Linked DNA regions of Homo sapiens: region 1 is linked to region 2. The links are contacts of gene promoters, found by promoter capture Hi-C in blood cells and fetal thymus (Javierre and others, 2016). All regions are on one chromosome and are shown on one strand. Each heading gives the region's core, a stretch centred on a gene start or on the middle of the fragment in contact. The rest is flanking DNA. Distances are from core to core; before and after follow the strand shown.

Region 1 (5,363 bases), core at 1,531-4,030, 280 kb before region 2:
ACCACAAGTTGAAAATACCATCAGTCAAAATACATTTAATACTCTCAACCCACCAAACATCACAGCTTATCTCAGCCCGACCTTAGACGCGCTCAGAACACTTACATTAGCTTACAGTTGGGCAAAATCATCCACCACAAAACCTATTTTATAACAATGTGTTGACTATGTCAAGTAATTTATTGAATACTCTACTGAAAGTGAAAAACTGAAAGGTTGTATGGGTATTTGAAGTATGAGTTCTACTGAATGTGTATCACTTTCATATTATCATAAAGTTGAAAAATTGTAAGTCAAATCATAAATCAGGGACTGTCTGTACTGACATTTTAGATTAGTTTTGCTGTTTTACTATCTCTAGTAGTATGTTCCCTTCCAAATCTCAATAATCATTCTTAGAATACCCTCTGCTTACAGGACTATAATTGTTCCCCAAGGGAAAATCACTAGCTGTTAAGAAACCATGAGAATTTTTTAGATTATTATTTTAAATAATTTTCTCAGATGCTTTATTTTCTCTTCTCAGTATTAACTTGAAATAAAAAGAAATGCCACAATGTTAAATCCTTTCTTCTGCATGGATTTTAATTTTATTTTATTTACTTGGCAGATTCATTTTATAAAGCTGCATTCAAACAAAATAATTTGTAAGTAACCAAGTTTGATTAAAATCTGTATTGTGATTATGCTGAAACAGCCAAACCAATATGTATTATAAGACTTTAACTGTTATTAGTCTGTTGTAGAATGTTTTAAATCTCTTCAGATGTCACTTCATTGTTAATCTGCCCCATGTGGGAAGTTGTGGTAATGGTTTCTTTCTAGCTCATTGATTGCTTTTGGTCAATTGATGTAAGTGTTTCAGTTTTCTTAATTGGCTTACTTTGTTTTCAACATTTGTTAGTAACATATTAAAAGTATCAAAATATATTGGCCTTGTTACCACAATTCAGGAAATGCTATTTTATATCTTCACTTTAACATATAATACACAAAATGTTTTTCTCCAATCAAGAGTTTTATTGTACTTATGTATCATCCTAATTTTTAAAAATTATGTTGATTGAGATCAGAATTTGAATAACATTGGAAATGACTGAGCAGTCAGTGCATTGCATTTATTGCAAAATATAAAATAGCTGGTGACATAGTGAGAATTCAAACAATATCCCATTTCATTTTCATAATACCATCTCTCTTAAAAATGTATTTTTTTTCCTATATTGTTTTGAGCTTTCTTCAACTCAGGAGTTGCTTTATAACTAAATATATTTAAAATATTATATCTTTTAATAAAGTACAAAATATCTTCAAGCTAGGTTGTGAATTCTCAAATAGAAAGTCCTAACACCCTCCTATTGAAGTGCATTTAAGTATGTTAATGTTTGTGAAATACTGATCAGTCTTTTGTGTTCTTTCTCCCTGTCTGGGCCTGGGTTTCAAAATTGCCAGTGAACCACATTCAGGGACAAACTTTGTTAAACTCAGTGTCATGAAATAAACCACTCATGCATGTATCAGCACAACTACAGATACTCCCAATAACTGAAAATTTGAATAAGTGAAGCTGAGTAACCTGCAAGAATTGAGAAGAGAAACAGAAAAATCCTCTGTTAAAGGATTTATGCGATGCTATTAAATGTTTGCATTATAGTAATTCGGTAGGAAAACAGAGGGATAAGAGCACAGAAAATATATTTCATAAAATAATAGCTGAAAATTTCACAAGTCTTGGGACAGATGTGAACATCCAGATTCAGGAAGCTGAAAGAACTTTGATTAGATTCAACCCAAAAAGAAACTCTTTAAGGCACATTTTAATCAAACTGTCAAAGACAAAGAGAACTCTAAAAGCTGCAAGGGAAAAAAGTCAAGTCACAGAAAATGGAATCCCCCATCAAATGATTAGGAGATTTCTTAGCAGAAACCTGGCAAGCCTGAAGAGAATGGGATGATATACTCACTGTGCTCAAAGAACTCCCCCAAAACAAAAAACTACCACCAATACTAGATCTAGCAAAGTTATCCTTTAGAAATGAAGGGGAAATAAAGAACTACCTGGACAAGCAGAATCTGAGGGAATTCATCACCACTAGACCAGTCGTACAAAAAGTGCTTAAGAGAATGCTGCAACTGAAAGTATAAATAAATAAATACTAAAATGAAAACATGTGCAAGTATAAAACTCATTAGTAGAGTTGAATTTATAAATCAAAGTTGGAATACTCCAGTGATGTTTGGTGCTATGTAAATCTTAAATTTCTGCAGTATGAAGGTTGAAAGTCGAAATGGTCAAAAATAACAACAGCTAATATTAGCAGCTAATAAAAACAAAATAGATAAAGATGTAAATTAAGGCAACAAAAATATAAATTATGGGGGTAGAGAAAAAGTCTAGAATATTCTTATGTGAGTAATGTTATTATCAGTTTAAAAAACAAGTCTATTGCAGATCCAATATTCTTTATGTTAGACTCATGGTAACCAGAAAGAAACAAATTACTGCAGACATGCAAACAAAAAAGAAAAATGAAACAAAGCTTAGCATCACAGAAAACCACTGGTTCATAGATGCAAACAAGAAGAGTGGAAGAAAGGGACAAAGATCTACAAAACACACACACCAATTGGGTAGGCTCAAATCCACAACAACAATATGAAATGGTGGCAGTAATGTGGAGATATAGAAACTCATCCATTGCTTGAGTGAAGGTGCAGTGCCACAGCCACCCTGAAAGAGTGAAGCAGTTTCTTATAATGGTGAACGAGTCTTACCATACTATCTAGCAATTGTACTTTGGGATATATATGCAATTGATTGAAATCTTTGTTCACACCAAAACTTGCAGGTGAAATGTTTTAGCAGCTTTATTCTTAATCACCAAAGACTGAAAGCAATCAACATATTCTTTTAGGTAAATGGATTTTTTAAAAACCTGGTACGTTCATACAATGAAATATTATTTCAGCAATGAAAAGAAATTAGCCATTAAGTCATAAAAAGACACGGAGGAAGCTTAAGTGCTCATTGCTCAGTTAAATAAATCAATCTGGAAAGTTTACATAATGTATGATTCCAAATATGTCTCATTCTAGAAAAGACAAAACTATAGACACTATAGAAAGATGGTTTCTAAGAGGGAGGGGATGAAGGATGACTATGTGAAGCAGAGGGAATTTTCAGAGCAGGATAACTATTCTCCATGATACTGTAATTGTAGATATATGATATTAGGCGTTGTCAAAACTTATAGACCTTCACAGCGCAAAGAATGAACCATCATGTATTCAATTAAAGAAAACCATTTAGGAGGTCAGAGGCTCTCAGGAAGGAATGTAGATTCTAACAAGATGATCAAACTATATTACAAATTTATGAAAAGGTATCCCCAAAGAAGGTGGAGGGAAATATGCTGACCTAAGTCATTTTAGAAATGTATGTATAAAAATGGAGAAGGAACTGTTCCTAAGCACTGTATTCTCATTTCAAAAGTAATATCCACCAGGGATCTGGGTTAGTAATTCTGAAACTGCTATACGTGTGTCTAAAATTAAGCAATTAATCAAATAGGCAGTGAGTGGTGGGAGCTGTTGGAGTGAGAATTTACTGATTAGCAATATGAGGAGGCTAGAATGATCCAGGTGGTAAGGTATTATGGTTGGAAACATTGCTATGAACTAAAGTTAGGCCTAACATAGCTTCAGATGGTTAAATAGAAAAACTTATAAATATGTGTATATGCCTGGGTTATTATAATCACATGTTCCCGTATTATGTCAGTTAAGAGGGCCTAGAAACTATAAATTCCTAAGAATAACAAGCACACCCAGCAGATCTTAGTTTCCTTCACTTTTTTAATATAAGGAACCAGAGCTCATGAAATAAATGACCAATTCTAGAGCATGGGTGGGAAATATAAAAGATGAGCCTGGAGCACCTTGTAGTGCCAGAAAGTAACAAACTGAAACAAACAAACAAACAATAAAACTCCAAACTCCCACAAAACTGAAACAATTTGAGAAACACAACAAACAAGACAATACTGTTATCTGTACCCAAAGCATAAAATAACCATCCATGAGCTATAGTGAAATAAATAAATTGTAAATTAATGCCAGGAGAAAAGATAAGCCTCTCTTAGAATTAATTCATGTATACATTCCATCTTCAAGGAATAGAAACTTGTAAAGAGCAACTAAAAAGGGCAACTGGACAATAGCGTTTGTCAGGTTTCTCCCTGAAATCCATAACCCCAGCCTAATCGTGTGAAAAAAAACATTAAACAAACTCCATTTGTCAAATATTCTGAAGACACTGACCAGTCCTCCAGAAAACTGCCAAGGGCATTGAAAACAAGGACAATCTGAGAAACTGTCATAGCCAAGAGGAGCTTAAGGAGACACAACAGCCATAGGTATATGGGAAACCAGATGAGATAATGGAACAGCAAAAGAACATTAGATAAAAACCAAGCACATGTGCCTATGCTATAGGCTTTTGTTAGAAACTAATGCATTGATTTTGAGTAAACAAATATTGCCAACATACCACATGAATGTGAGCTGTTAATAATAGAAAAATTGAATGTGAGATATATGAGAACTCTGTGTTATATCTCAAGTTTTCAGTAAATCAAAAATATTTTAAAAATAAAACAGGCTTTAAAAATAAAGTCTATTTAAACAAAAATAAAAAATAAAATACAACGGCACCCCTTAAATCAGAATAGAACATGATGAAATAATACATTTTAAGCTTCATTATTGGCACCATTCTAAGAAGTTAGGTAACAGCAGTGAATAAAATGAGCACAATTCCACCTCTCAATGCCTTACATTTTTAGGGGGGCAGTTGAAAATAAAACATTTAAAATATATAGGACATTTAAAGGTGATATTTTTTAAATAAAGTAAAATAAAGGACAAAAGAGGATAAGTTGTTCTAGGGAATGGCGTTAGGGTTGAATTTTTGAATAGGCAACTAAAACAACTTTATTCTTTAGACATCATGACCATTAGTTGCACCTAGTGAGCTTGGGCATACAGAAATATTTATCAGTAATGTCTAGGACAAAATTGAGAAGCATTCTAGAAATGGAGGTAAATAAGAAAGCTAAAAGGATGAGAGCATGGTAGAAGTTGATGTCACAGCATGTCCAGGGCAACACAAATAGGTATTGGTAATTCAGAAAACAGAACAAGTTGGAGAGGGGAGTTAGCAGTTAAAATGTTAGGGAAAACATTTCATTTTCTAACTATACACTTTGAATATGAAACTTGAAGGGGCTAAAATAAACTCAATGATAAATTTATTAAAACTTATATAAGCTTCAATAAAATTGATAACATCTCTGAACTTATAC
Region 2 (5,472 bases), core at 2,973-5,472:
TTATTTTTCCCTAGTGGTGATCATAAAATATCCTGTTTGGTTTAAATGTAAGATTTCAGAGATTTTGACAGGTCTTCTATTTCGTGGAGACTTTCTACTGCGTTAGGATACTCCTATAGATTTTTTGAAGAGAGCTTCTTCAATATTGCTTAAAACCAGCTTCATGTTAGACTATTTCAGAGAATTTTCAAAAAACATTCCTATATTTACCAGCAAATTACTTGTTTTTGAGAAACTAGTATTATGACATATATTGTTAAATGCAAAAACCTTTACACTTCACAACCATGTAAATAAATTATGTAAAAATCAGAAAATATTATTGTAATATGGATGTGTCATTAGCACTATTACATTTGAGTTATTTTTTGTAGCATCACCTCTTTTACTGATAGACAACTTTTAAGATGATGCCAGTACTGGAGATTAATTAACAAAGGAGCCCTGGTAGAACTGTAGCTTTATTTTTTCCTATAGAGAAGTACATGTATGTAGACAAATACTATGTGCATTTGAATTAGAAGGGCTTGTACCCTACGCCAATTCTTTTTAGGATTTTGGAAGTCCATATGATCTTTCATTGTTAGGAAGCTGCAAGCTGAGAAATAAAACCAACTTACTAATGACACCTTCATTGGGTTCAAGTGGCTTTAATTCTGCACCATCTTCTATAGTAGTCACTATTTCAATGCTAACCTTGGGGAACTGCGACAAAGCACCATCTTCCAGGATGGCACACTCAACTCACAAAAGCTATCAGTTTATATGCTCTTCCTTTCAAAATAACGACATCATCTTGTAATTTGACCATATGTTTGCGCAACCTTTTCTGGGAGAAACTGAACTTTTCCCATATGTTGTTTTTTCTCAGAAAGAAAAATCTTATGGGTCCCTATTAGGGAGGTAGCATTACTCAGCAAGTGTGGATTCTGGAACTCAAAAATGAGAAGGCAGCTTGCCAAGTAAACAGGATGTAGTGGATGGTGAAAAGCGTGTATGGGTGTGTATGAAGAAAAATGAATGGAATTGTCAATAACAATGCTACACTTGCAGCCTGGAAAGAGTAGGAGAGTGCAGCGCGGGCCTCAGCATCTGTGTTGGCCCAGTCTCTTGGTTGATTATCAGAGCACCTGAGCTAGCCAGGCCTCTGTCCTGTCCTAGGTCCAGAACGTGCACACTCACTCCCTCAGCACTGAGGTTTCAGCAAAATTTAATGCCTCAGCCCCACGCATTGCCCGAGAAAGCACTGGGCATTAAAGATCAGCGGGAGGCCACAGGATCACTTTTGGCCAGGAGTCTGAGAACAGCATGGGTAACATGGCTAGACCCCCTCTCTAAAAAATATAAAAAATAAAAGAATTAGCCAGGCATGATGGCCTGTGCCTGTAGTCCCAGTTACTCCAGAGGCTGAGGTGGGAAGCTCAGTTGAGCCCAGGAAGTTGGGGCTGCAGCAAGCTGTGATCCAGTCACTGCGCTCCAGCCTTTAATTCATTAAAAAAAGAAAAAAAATGGAGACCACTGTTTATGCAAGATATTTGATTTCAAATACAGGCGTGGACAAAAGGTTAGGACCCTTTCACCTTCCTTATGAGTTCCTTCCTAATTTCCTGTGTCCCATAAAAGGACTACTTGTTTAGCAACGTAGCCCCTTCCTTGGCAGGTTACAAAATCCCAGTGTCCTGGGAAACTGTTCTGGGCAAAGAGGACAGAAGAGGGCAGGTGAATGAGAGCATTTATGGTAAAACCAAGTTTTCTCTGCCTTCAAACTGTGATTGAGAAATGCAGTAACTTTCTACAAATAATTTTAAATGTTGCCACTTTCTTTGTAGAACTGTGTCATCTTCACGAATAACGCATATTTTGGATGTAAAGAAAGTGCCATCCAACCATAAGAAAGATTCCAACATTCAACTGTCAACTCTTGCGACTGGTCCTTTTGCAAGACCTCCACCCTCTCCTCTATAGATGACCCGGATCCCCAAAAGCGTTTTCCAAGCATTCTGTCATCTGCATATCCCTCTGTTGAGCAGCCTCACTGATCTTTGAACTCTTTTGCTTCCTTAAGGCTGGAGAATTTCTTCCTCAACTCCACGACGAACATTGCCCACCACCTCCCACCCCGCGCTGGCACGAGCACCTCACGTGGGTCACAGGACTCCCGCGGGACCTTCTGCGTGTTTCCCCTTGATCTTTTTACAAGTAGGTGCGTGGGCGGATACTCACCAATCTCCCTTCATCCGCTCACCTCTCTCCCTTTGCTCAAGCTTGCAGCTCCTCTCACAGGCCTCCAGCTCTGCTGGACTTGGCGTATTCAGAGGCGCGCAGCCTCTCTGTCCTCTTCCCTCTCCCCCATTTCTTCTGTCCTCCGCCTTCTCGTCTCCCTACTCTCTTCTGTCCCCTCATTCTCTCTCCTGCCTCTCTTTTCTCTCCCCGCTCCTCTTTTCCCTTTCTTCTCTCTCTCCTTTCTCTCTCTCTTACCCTGTCCATGTCTTCCCCCTTCTCTCAGCTTTCTCTCTTTAGGTCTCCATCTCGCTCTACTCCCGGGTTGACCCATGACCCAACTTTCATTACACGGATGCACAACACGCGCGCGCGTATATGCGCGCGCACACACAAACACACCATCCCCTTTGCTCGGTCACTTTACCCCACCCTGGAAATCGAGGAACCAGCACTTTGGTGTGGTGGTAGGAGGCTTGGGGGCGCGTGTGAGACTCTGAATCCCTTCCAGACTTGGGGGTCACCTCATCGTCCCTCATCCCAACTTACTGGCAGGAGACCTCCACCCACTCACAGCCGCTGCGCTAGGCGTGGGCAGGACTGCGACGAGCACCCAACGCCCCGCGCAGCCCCGCGCGCACGTGGGCGCCCCAGCAGCAGGTGCCGGGAAGCGGAGGCCGGGCCAGAGCCGGGAGGCAGCCCCCCGGCCTCGAGCGCTCGCCAGACTCTTCTCATGGCCCTTTCTCCTTTCCTCGGCCTTTCGGGGCCACCCTAGTCTTCACAGCTCAGCGTCTGCTGCTGACCCCCCGCCCCCCGGCGACCCCGCCATTGCCATTAGCTCTTCCTACCCCGGCTTCTTCGCCGCCACAGTCCCCAACCCAAGCCCCAGCCGCGGCGCGGGTGTGGGTGGCCGGACGGGATGGCTTCCGTAGTCCCGGGGTCCGGCGGGCTCGGCTGTGGTCTGCGTGGGTCGCGTCCGCAGAGGCCGAGGGAGGGCGGGACGGAGCCGGGAAAGGGAGGAGGTGCCGTTGCGGCGCCCAGGGAGGGACTCCCTGCACCCCCGCGCGCTCCAGCCCTTCCCGGCGCTGCCTCGCGGTTGCCCTTATTTCGTATTCATTGATTCGCATTTTACAAGCCCGGGCTCTTCCGGTGCTGTTTCCCCGCAACTCGTGTCTCCCAGACTTTAACGCGCCGCGCGAGCCTGTAGGAGGAAGTGGCGCGGGGGAACGGGGGTCCGTGTGTGCCTTGGGGTGGTTTTAAATACCTCGAGGTGGGGGGCTCAATTGCAAGAAGCCCGCGTCTTTGCAGGAGTAATTTGGTGGGGGGACTGGACATCAGGCCCAGTGCTCAACCGCGAAACTTTTACGGCCGCCTTTCCCTGGGGCGCGCCCCTGCCGTGTCTCCCAAGCTGAGCGCGGAGTCCGCGGCGAAACCTGCGCCCCAGGGAGGGAGGGAGAGGGGGCGCCCAGTTCCTTTACGCGGATGGAAAAGAAGGGGTGGGAGGCAGAGAGCCCGCAAGGTCTAACCTTTAAAAAGTGAAACACCAAACCCCACAAGGGATTTTCACACGAAGGCCCCTCCCGCTTCCACGCCTTCCGTCCGGCACGAGGATCCGGCTCGGGATTTGCGGCTGCATCCTCTCTCTGCGCCCTGGCGGGCCGAGCCGCGGATCCCAGCCGGGTCCTCACCCCCTCCCCGCCCCTCCCCCAGATCCGCGCGGCTGGGATGTCCTTGCTGCCGCCGCCGCGGCCCCATTCTGCCGCGCACCAGCCCCGGGGCGCCGGCCGCGCGCAGCCTCGCTATCCCACCCAGGCTCCGGGCTTCCAGGAGGGTCGTGGAGCCCCAAGCCATGACTAAGGAGCCCATTTGGTAACTCTGCCCTCTTCCGGCTCCTTTCTCCTCCCTCCCTTCCCCGCCCCCCGGCCCCCCCCCCGGCCGCCCCGCTCCCCTGCACCGCCCTCCAGCCCGCCTCCCAGACGCCCACCCACCCGCTCCTCTTTCCGCAAGATAGCAGAGGTGGCGCGCAGCCCGGCGAGCCGATGACGGACCCCTTCTTCCTGCCTTCAATGCCTCAGCGGAAGATCCCCAAGGGCTGGAGCGAGGAGCGCTGCCGCTGGACATCCTCCCGGGGAGGCTGCTCCGACCTGCTGCGCGGCGCGTCTGAGACTGGGGACTGAGCCACCCCGCCGCCGCCGGCGCCGCCGCCGCCGCCCGCTCCGTCGCTGCCGTCGGTCTGGACTGGCCCCCACCTCGCTGCGCCCTCTCCCCGGCCCCGGCCCCGGCTCGGGGCGTCCCGGGGCTCGCCCTGCGACCGCCGCCTCCCGCGCGCCGCGTCCTCCCGACCCCGCGGCGGCGACGATGCCCGGGAGGAGGGTCCTGACGGCGGCGGCGCGGATGGTGGCGGCCGGCGCCCGGGTGTGATGCGAGCGTCACGGTGGGGATGCTGCTGGCTGCGCGGCGCTGAGGGCCAGCGAGAGCGAGAGCCCGCCCGGGGCGGAGGACGGACTCATCCGGATCTGGCTGCAGCGTGGGCTCGGAGCTCCCCCTTCCTCTCGGTCTCCCTCTCGGCCCCCCTTTATTTCCTTCTTGCTTTGCGTCTTTAACACCTCTCGACCCTGTCCTCCCCCCGCCACTGGAAGTCTTCCCGTCTCTAAATGGAATTAGTGGAGCCCGGAGCCTCTGGTGTAACGCACAGACATGATCCATGGGCGCAGCGTGCTTCACAGTGAGTACCCTCCCCGCCGCGCCCGTGCGCTCCCGGAGCCAGCCCTCCCGCCCCTTTCCCGGGGCCGAACGCGCAGGAAAAGCCTCTGCGCCGCGCTCCGGCGGACCCTGCAGTCCCGCGCGGGTCGGGGCCGACGTAAACTTTCTGTATTGCAGCATCGTGGAACCGGGCGTGGGGGCGGCGCGCGGTCAGCCGTCGCCGGATCCCAAAACCTGCCGGAGAACGGTCTTTCAGTGCGCAGGAACCCCCCGGGGGTGGAGGATAGCGTGCAGTTCAGGGATGGACACGTGCGGCAGAGATTGGCCCAAGCGAGGGCGCAGGTGGAAAGCGGGAGAGCGCGGATGATACCTAGTGGGGCCAGAGGAGTCTTCCTCTTCTAGGGGCTCCCGGAGCTCGGCGGGCCCCTGTTCGCAGTACAGGAGGTAGCAGAAGGCACACCTGAAGCCAGCGCTGGAGGGAAGGGCGAGGGTCAGCTTCCACCCCTTTCCGCCCTGGAGACCGCTGATGTCGCTTTATGGGTGTGTGGT

What was found. The method cuts DNA at HindIII sites, captures the fragments that hold promoters and counts their contacts. A CHiCAGO score of 5 or more calls a contact.
Region 1: a fragment that was not itself captured here is called in contact with the fragment with the promoter of NETO1 in region 2 in 2 of 17 cell types (total B cells and naive B cells); the score reaches 5.9 in total B cells.

Annotation. Positions count from the first base shown.
Region 1 is chr18:73,145,846-73,151,208 of GRCh38, reverse strand. No RefSeq gene overlaps it. Among named protein-coding and RNA genes, the nearest start is that of LINC02864, 120 kb to the left of the region's middle. The HindIII fragment of the contact is 476 bases long and covers 2,543-3,018 here.
Region 2 is chr18:72,866,737-72,872,208 of GRCh38, reverse strand. It overlaps NETO1 (neuropilin and tolloid like 1), which reads left to right and starts at 4,222. Exons shown (of 11, transcript NM_138966.5): 1 at 4,222-4,945. The coding sequence starts at 4,918. It overlaps NETO1-DT (NETO1 divergent transcript), which reads right to left and starts at 3,821. Exons shown (of 2, transcript NR_134648.1): 1 at 3,747-3,821. The HindIII fragment of the contact is 9,933 bases long and covers 2,267-5,472 here.